2 separate regions of the Homo sapiens genome follow, and region 2 is linked to region 1. Evidence: promoter capture Hi-C in human tissues and cell types (Jung and others, 2019). All regions are on one chromosome and are shown on one strand. The core of a region is centred on a gene start or on the middle of the fragment in contact, and the rest is flanking DNA. Distances in the headings are between cores, read along the strand shown. Region 1 holds the start of CSMD1 (CUB and Sushi multiple domains 1). Region 2 overlaps CSMD1 (CUB and Sushi multiple domains 1).

Region 1 (5,519 bases), core at 1,688-4,187:
CCCCCTCCGCGCGCACACACTTGCGCACAGCACCTCTCCAGCTCCATGCACGCCAGGGGCCTGGGACCCTGGGCTCCACTTCTCGGCTTCTACAGCCAGGTTCTGGGACCTGCAGCGCGCAAGAGGAGCTCTCTTCCACGGGGCTGCCCCGCAGGGCCCGAGGCGCCCAGGACTTTGCAACCCCTGCCCTGTTCGCCCCAGAATCATCCAGAGCAGCCCCCGCCCACTACCTGGCCCTCCACACCCTCCCTCCCGCCTCCGCCTCAGCCTCATCCTAGCGCTGCAGCCCACCCGCGTGGGGGCGGAATCCGCCCGGCACACACGTGTGCGGATTATTAAGCAGCCGAGCTAGGGCCGCCGCGGTCTCCACGCAGCAACCTCTGCTAATTGCGGGGGAAGGCAGCCGGAGCGTGCGGAACTCGAGGGAACCGAGAGTGAGCTCAGAGGCTGAGTTGCCTGCCTGGAAAGGAGGAAGCCCCGGGCCCAGTTAGGCTTGGAGTGCAGGGGAAAGGGCGGGAAGTTTTGCGGAGTTGCGTGGCAGGTGTTTCCTCTCCACGCAGGGGCTCGGCTGGAAAAAGCCAGGTCCTGTCCCTTGGGCTCCTGCCCTCACCCCGCTGCGACACACACGCCCCAGCACACCTCACAGGGCACAACCCTCTTTTCCCTAGACTTTAGCTGCCTCGCCTTCCAATTCCCAGCCAGTCCAGTGCTGACCAGAGGCCGCTGCCAGTCGGGCCCTGCTCAGCAGGCGCTGCCTCCGCAGCCGGCAATGTCAGAGGCACCGGCCAAGGCATCCGGACTGAGCCGGGCGGGTGGGCAGAGGGTCGGCGTCTGCAAGAAGCTCCCCAGTCCCGAGCGACCACGAGCTTGGGTGACTAAGACCCACTGTTTGCGATCCCCGAGATCTCGGGGCGCATTCCCGCAGACACCCCCTTGTGAGGGTGGATGCCGGTGAGGAGGAGCTGGTGCTGAGCGGTCAGCTTTCACGGAGCCCTGGACGCCCCGTGGAGGCAAGTGCAGGGAGGGGAAGCCCAGGCGGCACGTCTCTCCCCCGCTCTCCAGGCAGATCTGGAGTTTCCTAATGAACCAGATACAGTCCTCCTTCGCCCTGCCAATCACTCTTCCATCTGGACCACTGGAGGAAAAGGAAATGGGTGGAAAAGAAGATGGAAGAATCTAGAGAGGACGGGGAAATATTATGTAGGGAAAAAAGCAAGTGACCATTGAAAAAAAATCGTAAGATTGGACTCCAACCTTTAAAAATGAAACGAAAGAAAAACCCTTTGTAGATACAGATACTCCCGGGAACATCTATGGAAGTGCTGACTGATAAAGAAAGCATCTAAGGAGGCTAAAAATGAGGACAGGGGCAGGTATTTCCAATGTGAAAACCAATCAGTATTCTCTCTCTCTCTGTCTCTCTCCCTCTTTCTCGCCCTGTCTCAAAAGGGAGCTTATGTTCTTTCCCGGAGAATAAACAAGTACACAAGCTATTGCCAGCCTTGAGGTCGCAGCCTGTAGGCTACTTAGAAGAAAACATTCCCCAACTCATTCAGGGAGAAAACCAAGCTCACAGAGCCCCAAGCCCAGGAGCCACCCAGAGAAACTCCTTCCCCTGACCAGCGTAGAAGGAGGATACCCGTGCGCCCACAGTGAATGTATCTGACTTGGAAGCCGGTCCAGAACTCCTAGCCTGTTTCACGCACCTTGCCAACACCTTACAACTTGCAAGGAGCGAAGTCCGGGGGAGAGGAAAGCGGGGGCGACCTTCTAGAGGCAGCTACTCCTCGCCGGCTGAGGACGTTGGAGAGGGAAGGAGGAGAGGAGGAATGGGGTGTATGGGTGCGAGGAGGCCGGGCCGGCGGAGACCTTTGCCTATTGGTACCAAAACCCCCGTAGAGAGCCCGAACTTTCCAGGCCGGCTTCACCCGGGACGCTTTCCCAGGCGCGTCGGGTCCGGGGAGAAAGTCCTGGGAACTGCCCCTCAGCCACCCCGACCCGTGGAGTCCACGTCTCGGAGGAGGCAACACCGCCCCGGCGGAGCACAGTTCCAGCCCAACTCGTATTGGGTTCCTTTCTCCTTGACACCCTGTACTGCCGAGAAAAAGAGATCTCTCCTGTGAGCCCAAGAGAGGGGGAAGGAATGGCGGGGTGGGGCGGGGGCCCAGGAGGGCTGGGGAGAGCGCGATGGAAGCTCCCTCCCGTGCATCGCGTTCCCCGAGCTTCGGCGATGGAGCAGCGCCGGGCAGAGGCGGCCACTCCGTACCCTGCGGTCCCCAAAACGCACACTCGCGTCCGCACACGGGGCCTCCGAGGGCTCTACCGCCTCCCCGGCCAGGAGCAAGTCCGTCTTACCCTTCGCTGCAGTGAGGAGCCTCGCGCACAGCACCAGCAGCCCGAGAAGCAGGAGCAGCGACTGGAATCTCCTCCACGCAGTCATGTCTGCAGATACTCCACACGCACGCGACACCGATGGCTCCTCCGAGGAAGGCAGGGCTATGAGCGGAGCCAAATAATCACCCGAGGGCAAGGCGAGCCGGAGAGAGAGCCCGGTCCCAAGACCCGCCGCGCATCCGACGCCTCCTGAAGGTCTGGGCGCCCGGCTCGCTTCCCTCTCATAGCATCGGGTCCCGAGCCACTGCAGGGCTGAGCTGCTCCGAGCGCGGAGACCCGGGCTGGCGGGGCCGGGGCCGGGGACGAGCGCCGGCCGAGCCGGGCAGGAAGGCACCAAGGCGGCGAGGCTGCGGGAGGGGGAGAAGCGGGGAGAGGAGCGCGCGCAGCCAGGAGAGACCTGGAGAGGAGGCAGCTGGAGAGAGAGCCAGCGAGTGGGAGATGCGGGGAGGGGGGCGCGGGGGGGAGGAGAGATCCAGTCTAGAGAGAAAAGGCGGAGAGCGCAGAAGAAGGGCTGCTAGTGGCACAAGGAGCCGCTGCCGTGGAGGCTGGACTCAACCATCCTTACCCACAGAGAGGGGACCGAGGCTGGGCACGGCGCAGTCCCAGACAGACAGAGCCCAGCCTCGGGGCCTCGGGCTGCCCGCACCGTGCTGCGCTTCATTCGGCCTCAGCGCAGCAGCGCGCAGGCTGGAGAAAGGAGACTTGTTGGGCGCTCGGGTGGGGGAAGCTCACGCCGCACACCGGGGAGGAACAATGTAATCCGGCAACTCCAGCAAACTGGAGGGTTTCTGCAGGGGCAGAGTCCCGCCTCCATCCTTTGATCTCCCTTCCTTGCTGACCAGAGAGCAGCCCCCTACCTAACTTAGATCAGAAATGCAGGTGGAAAGGGCACAAGCTTCAACTCCAAGGGAGGAATATATTTATACATTTATATATATATATATATGATGATATGTATAATGTTTTGCAAGATGGACTATTTGCAAGGAGTTACACAAATTTACACATTTCCTGACTTTGGATTGTGTTAGATTTAGCCATGCCCAAACTTCAGCTTCAGATAAAACGTGACATGAGGAAGTCTCTAGAATTAATATTATGGTCTGGTTGTGAGAGCCGGCATGTTGGCACAGCTTCTGATGAAACTATATATAAAATTCTGTGGGTTGGGAAGGGACCTTAAAAGAGAAGAGACAGGTTCTCCCTGATTCTGCAAAAGGATGAAGCCCGCAGAGAGAGAACAGTGCTTTAGAATAGCAGTACTTGATACAGTAAACTGGATTTCACCCAGCTCCCCAAATAGAGGAGGCATTCCTGCAGTTCCTGGGGAACGTGTAAGGAGAGACATTTTAGGAGAAGGTGGTCAGTTAATAGAAACACCACGAGTGAGGGCTGGTTTCCATAGAAGGACATTTAAAGGATTCGACATCCTTGACCAAAAAGGTTTAGCCCTTTCAGAGGACAGAACGTGGAAATCCCATACCCTAGTAAGAGAGAATTAGCCTCCAGGCCTGGAACCATTAGAGTATACAACCATCTACCTGCGGTATCCCCACAGCACCGAATGCCTGTGGTGGGAGGGACAGCCCACCGCTTCATCCCACCTGCACTTCCTCTGTCAGTCTTTGAGATTAAATGGGTTGACAGTTTGATAAAGTTTTATATCCCTCCTTCAATTTTCTTAGATTGCTCCTGCCTCTGTGACCTAGTCTACCCTAGAAAGGCATAATGGATCCAGGAAGGACTGCAACCTTGGCATGGAAACACCGAAGCCTGACTTTCTTAGTCTCCCTGCAGCCTAAGGTGCAGGTGGCCACAATTGGGGCCACCTCCACAACCCTTTTCTCCTCGCAGATATATGAGATTTAAATATGGGGTGGGTGGGGAGGGAGAGAATGCGTGCTCTTGGAGTTGCAGTCCTGAACATGACTTGGATTTTCCTCAGCGCAGAGTCCCGTCTTGCCTCATGTATCCCTGGAGGGACACTCGGAAGACAGAATGCCTCAGTCACGGGGGAATTCCCATAGAACCCCTGAGTTCTATTCTTCAGGCTGAACCGGGCCTGTGGAGCAGAGGGTCGCCCCCTCTGGGATTTTAAATCAGACCTCAGATAGTATCTGTGAGTCAGCGAGTGAACAAAAATGCTTTCCAAGACCCATTAAGTGCTCCAATAGTTCATTTCAAGCGCCTCATCCGGAAAAACGGATCTCTTTTCAGGAGCTTAAGAGCTGACTTCTTCTTGAGAAACGGTGCCCTGTCTCTACACTGCCATTCCTAATGGCTCGTGTCACCAAGAAGGATTTCTGCCATTAAAAAACGTTTCCAACATCTAACCATCCTAGGCTAGGACTCATAGATGATTTTCACTTGATTAGGATCCCAATCAGGAACGACGGTGAGTGTCACCTGAGAGATGGAACACCTTTCCACATAATTGTGACAGGCTCCGGGCTGAACTTCCCTTTTCCTGTGTTCTGTTGAAAAACGTCCCATGCCACCTCCTTTCCCCAGAGAGCAAAGAATCTATCTGATACAAAGCCTTGAGAAATAATGGTCCAGATAACCAATAACCACTCATTTTTTTTGCTGTTATTTATGTGGGGTATTTTCTTTGGCCCGATCGTATATTAGAGAGTTACAATGATTCGTACCAAATTGTTTATTGATCATGATTATGAGAAGGGTATGAAACGGCTGACAAATAAAATAAGCTGGTTTTCTGATATGGTTGTATTTGTGTGTTTATACAGTGAATTTTTCGCCCAAGATCTCAAGGCTGGCTTAATTTGGAAGGAAAACATGGGGCTCTGCTGCCATCTAGCGTCCAATATTTCTTGTTTGGCGTTTGCAGAGAGATCAGTGGTCCCTCTGTTTTACTTCTCTGACCTCCTCTGCGGTTCCCTGCCTGCGTTTTGAATCTCCTCCAGAACACTCTTGTGCCCTCCTTGCGGTCCAGCTTGAGCCTATTAGAACACTGCAAGCTCCCCCGACACATACATACACACTTTGATGTGTAAATGATTGCGAAAGCCTTAATCTATATCAGAAGTCCAGTACATGTTACTTAGGGCAGTATTAACCACACGTGGTTAGAGTGAGTGTGGGGGCCCAGGGACGTCACACCA
Region 2 (5,519 bases), core at 2,126-4,625, 140 kb before region 1:
AAATTTCTCCTTTCTTGAACTTGGTCCCATTTTAGATTAAAATCTTGTTCTGATTCTTAATCTTGCTTCCCAGGTCAAGGGTATCTTATCTTTTAACTAAGTTAGAAAGTAAATTAGACAGCAAATGTGTTTGCAAAACTATATCTGGCATATATATGCGTATATTTATATATCAACTATATCTGTAAATATTCTTGAAATAGAATAATAGTGAAACTTACTGGAAACTAAAAACCATGTGCTTCTAAAACAGGCTATTCATTGGGAGAAAAAGATTATGTAGTGATTTTTTTTTCAAGATCCCTTACATCATTTCGTTAATGATTTGTCAGTAGAAGAAACAACTTGTGTTTTTAAAAAGCATTCTTGTTCTGATAATTGGCGAACTTTGTCAAAATAGGGCACCACGCTCTGCTCGTGTATCAAGCTTTGATGTGAAAAGAGAACTTACAGATACTTCTTTGTTTCTGAATGCCACTCTCTCGTAAGTCACTCTCTTTTTGCATGCAAATCTAAGGTCTCTCACTATATGAAATTAATTAATGCTTAAAGTAATAATGCGTTTGATGATGCATTATATCTTTAGCACTTTAGAATCTCAAAGAAGATTTTAAGAGAATTGGCATAAATAATTTCAGACAACAGATCTTGCACATTTGAATCCTAAACAATGACACTAACATCACATTTTCAGATACCAAATAAAAATAAATCTTTTTCAATAAATTTTAAAATTTCAAACACTTTTGGATTTACAGAAAAATTGTGTAGATTGTACAGAGAATTTCCATACACCTAATACCCGACTACCCCACTATTAACATGTTAAATTAGTGTCATACACTTGTCATGGTTAGTGGGCCGATACTGGAATATTTTATTAAAGAGTCCATACTCTATTCAGATTCTTTTCAGTTTTGCCTAATATCGTTTATCTCTTCCAGGACCCCACCGAGGACCCTGTATAACATTTAGACATGGTTTCTCCTTAAGCTCTTCAATGACTATGATAGTTTCCTGACTTTTCTTGTTCTTCACGCCTACCTTGACAGTTTTCAGGACCGTTGGTCAGGTCTTCTATAGAATTCCTCTCTATCGGGATTTTTTTTTTTTTTTTTGACGGCTTGAGATATAAGTTCTATACAATATACCTATTTAAAGTATAAATTTCAGTGTTTCATTATATTCCCAGATATATGCAACCATCACCATAGTCAATTTTAAATATTTTCATCACTGCAAAATGAAACCCTGTACCCTTTAGCAAGCACCACCCCCCATCCCTTCAAGGCAAACACACACCACCCTCTCCTTCCAGGGCCCGAACAACAACTCGTCTTCTTTTGTCTCTGTAGATTTCCCTGTTGGGGACATTTCCTATGAATGGAGTCATAGACATGCTGTATGGTTTTGCAACTGTGTTATTTTTTTTGGATATTGTCAAGGTTCATCCATGCTGCAGCATGTATTAGTACTTCATTCTTGGTCTGGCTGAATAATATTTCATTGTATGGAAATGGCACAGTTTGTCTATCCTTTCATCTAGTGATAGACTATTGGGGTGTTTCCACTTTTTCCTAGTTTGAATAATGTTGACATAAACATTGTTGTACCAGTTTTTGTGTGAATACAGTCATGTGCTGGATAACCACCTTTTGGTCAAGGATGGGCCACCTATACAATGGTGGTCACGTAAGATTATAGTGGAGCTGAAAAATTCCTATGAGCTAGTAATGGCCTATGGTCTTCCAACATTGTAACGCAGTGCATTACTCATGGGTTTGTTGTGATGTTGGTGCAAACAAATCTATCGTGCTGCCAGTCATTAAAAGTCTAGCACATAAAATGATGTATAGTACATAATGCTTTTTTTTTTTTTTGAGACGGAGTCTCACTCTGTCACCCAGGCCTGCGGTGCTGTGGCACCGTGTCGGCTCACTACAACCTCCGTCTTCTTGGTTCAAGCAATTATCCTGGCTCTGCCTCTCGAGTAGCTGGGATTACAGGCACCCACCACCACACCCAGCTAATTTTTGTATATTTTTATAGTAGGGACTGGGTTTCACCATGCTGGCCAGGCTAGTCTCAGACTGCTGACCTCAGGTGATTCGGCCGTCTCAGCCTTCCAAAGTGCTGGGATTACAGGCGTGAGCCAACGCGCCCAACCCAGTACATAATACTTAATAATAATAAACAACTATGTTTCTGGTTTATAGTTTTACTATATTGTACTTTTTATTGTTGCTTTAGAAGGTACTTGTTCTACTTATAAAAGTATTAACTGTAAAACAGCCTCAGGCAGGTCCTTCAGGAAGTATTGGAGAATAAAGCGTTGTCATCCTAGGAGATGACAGCTCTACACCTGTTATAGTCCCTGAAGACCTTCTAGTGGGACAAAATTTGGTGGTAGAAGACAGTGATATGTATGATTCTGACCTTGTGTAAGTCTAGGCTAATGTGCGTTTGTGTCTTAGCTTTTAACAAAAACGTTTTCAAAAAGTAAAATAAAACAAAATTTCAAGCTAGAAAAAAGCTTGTAGAATAAAGCTATAAAGAAAGAAAATATTATTGTACACCTGTGCATGTGTTTCATATTTTAATGTGTTATTACAAAAGAGTCACATGTTTAAAAAATTAAAAGTTTATAAAGAAAAAAGTAATAAGGTGAAGTTAATTTAATAAACTGAAGTTAATTTTTTTCTTTATTCAATAGAATAAAGAAAAAAATACTTTTTGTAAGTTTGCTATACCCTCAGTGTACAACGGTTGTAAAGTCCACAATAGTGAACAGTAATCTCCTAGATCTCACGTTCAATTATAACTCACTCACCGACTCCTACAGAGCTACTTCCAGGTTGCAAACTCCATTTATGACAAGTACTCTATACAGGTGTAGCATTTTTCATCTTTTATACCATAATTTTAGTGACCTTTTCTATTTTTAAAAATGCTCTAATACACAAATACTTGATATTGTATTATAGTTGTCCATATTATTTAGTGCAGTAACATGCTGTACAGATTTGAAGCTTAGGGGCAACAGGCTATACCATACATCCTAGGTCTCTAGGAAGCTAAACCATCTTGGTTTTAGTAAGTGCACTCAATGATGTTCATACATTGATGAAATTGCCTAACAAAGCATTTCTCAGAATATTTCCTCATTGTTATGTAACATGTAACTGTATATGTTTTCATTGCTCATGGGTATATTAGAAATGGCATTTCTCGATTATATTATGATGCTATGTTTAAACATTTCAGGAATTACCAGACTCTTTGCTAATGTGGCTGAACTTTTTTCCATTCCCACCAGCAGCAGACATGCGGGTTCTAATTTCTCCACATCTGTGTTACGTACGTACTATACTTGGCTTTTTTTATTCTTGCCATCCTGGTGGGTGTGAAGTAGGATCTCATGGTGGTTTTGGATTGCATTCCCCTGATGCCTAATAACGTCAAAAATCTCTTTATGTGAATATTGGTATTTGTAAAATGTATATGAAGATCATTAACCTATTTTTTAACTGGGTTATCTGTCATTTTATTACTGAGCTCCAAGAGTACTTTCTATGTTCTAGATGCAAATCCTTTATCAGATACACAATCCCCAAACATTTTCTCCCATTCTACGGCTTGTGTTTTTACTGTCTTAATGGTCTCTTTGAAGAATAAATGTTTTTATTTTGATGAAATCCAATTTATCTTTTTTTTTTTTTTTTTTTTTTTGCTCTTGCCTTTAGTAAAAAACATCTTTACTCTTTTTTCATTGATTGCTCAGGAAGCTTCCTCTCCCTTCAGTCACATGACAATTGCAAACATTGGTTATTTTCCAAAATCTTCCATTTCCCTCCTTTGCACCACTCCTCCCCCAGCACTCTCTCCCAGGACTTCAGCGAAGTAGAAATCCTTCATCCTCTCTTCCTCATCACTTAGTCTCTTTCTTTTCTCTCTATGACTCTTCCATCAGAACAAAGTCCTTGCTCCTTACCCCCTTAGCTTTGTCTCTCTCTCTCTCTGGATGAAGTGCAGAGTGTCGTGAAGCAGTTGTGTGCACTCATTGTTCCAGTACCTCAATTTTCTTTCAACCCCAAACCTAGTGGCTTGCCTATTATTTTACCCAAACTGCCCTCAAAAATTCAACCAGTGGCATCCTTTTGCTGAATTCAATAAAGTATGTTTAGTCCTCATGTCACATGAACCTTTATGCATTGAAGATTGTTTCCCTTGCCCCCCCACTTTTTGTGGTTATTTTTTTATCCTTGTTAATTTCCTTTTTTTAATATATACACTTTGAGTTTTAGGGTACATGTGCACAAAGTGCAGGTTAGTTACATATGTATACATGTGCCATGTTGGTGTGCTGCACCCATTAACACATCATTTAGCATGAGGTATATCTCCTAATGTTATCCCTCCCCCCTCCCCACACCCCACAACAGTCCCCGGAGTGTGATATTCCCCTTCCTGTGTCCATGTGTTATTATTCAATTCCCACCTATGAGTGAAAATATGCAGTGTTTGGATTTTTGTCCTTGGCAATAGTTTGCTGAGAATGATGGTTTCCAGCTTCATCCATGTCCCTACAAAGGACATGAACTCATCATTTTTTATGACTGCATAGTATTCTATGGTGTATACATGCCAACTTTTCTCGCCCCCTTTTTAAGCTCCTTCTTTCACTGGCTTTCATGATCCCACCAATTCCTGCTTTTCCTTTTTTGTTTTTTTCCTGGCTGCATCTTCTTCGTCAATTTCTTAAATTCTTCCCTTGTCAACCTCTATTTTTTTTCTTTTTTGATATTTGAGTATTTCATCCATGGCGCTTCTCACTCCCCTATACATTCTCCAGGGTTGAGGTAGTCTACCCCCATAGGTTCAGAACCTATGACCTGTATCTTCAGTTGGCATTCAATAGCCTATCCAACTCCATGTGGGAGTTTCATAATAATCTATGGGATTACCTGACTTCTCAATGTCTCCTGCTCTCCCTCTCCTCACTAAGAGTCCCATTGTGTGGCATCGGCAATCACCCATATGACTAACAAGAACCTTAAGACTTCTTCTTCTTCAAAGACAGGTCTATTGAGATGAACGTACTTTTAAGTCACCCTCCCCTTTAACTTGTGTGATTAAATGTTTCCCAAGATAATTACAGAGTGAAGCCACCATCACTAAAATTAGATTTCAGAATATTTCTCACACCCCATAGAGAAAATTTATACTCATTTGCTATCACTCTTCATTCTCCCTCTGCCTTGTACACAGGCTGAGTAAACCACTAGTCTAAGTTTTTTCCCTATAGATTTAATCTCTCTCTGGACGCTTGATCTGTCACTAAGGTCTAACCTGTAATACCTCCTCAGCAGGGCTTAATGTGTATACTTCCTTACATCAGATTCCCTCTCTCTTTATATCTTTTACTTGTGAAACTGCTATTTTCTCCCAACTGGGAACACCATATATGTTTGTTTACTCTAATCTATTTTTGCCAGCATTGTTCTATAACAGTAAACATA

The links. Contacts are between HindIII fragments. The study calls those that stand out against the background at their distance.
Region 2: a contact is called between a fragment that was not itself captured here and the fragment with the promoter of CSMD1 in region 1, in 5 of the 25 tissues and cell types used here (H1 embryonic stem cells, aorta, dorsolateral prefrontal cortex and 2 more).

What each region holds. Positions count from the first base shown.
Region 1 is chr8:4,991,977-4,997,495 of GRCh38, forward strand. It overlaps CSMD1 (CUB and Sushi multiple domains 1), which reads right to left and starts at 2,938. Exons shown (of 70, transcript NM_033225.6): 1 at 2,356-2,938. The coding sequence starts at 2,440. The HindIII fragment of the contact is 12,651 bases long and covers 1-5,288 here.
Region 2 is chr8:4,846,677-4,852,195 of GRCh38, forward strand. All of the region lies in intron 1 of CSMD1 (CUB and Sushi multiple domains 1), which reads right to left. Among named protein-coding and RNA genes, the nearest start is that of CSMD1, 150 kb to the right of the region's middle. The HindIII fragment of the contact is 3,790 bases long and covers 1,481-5,270 here.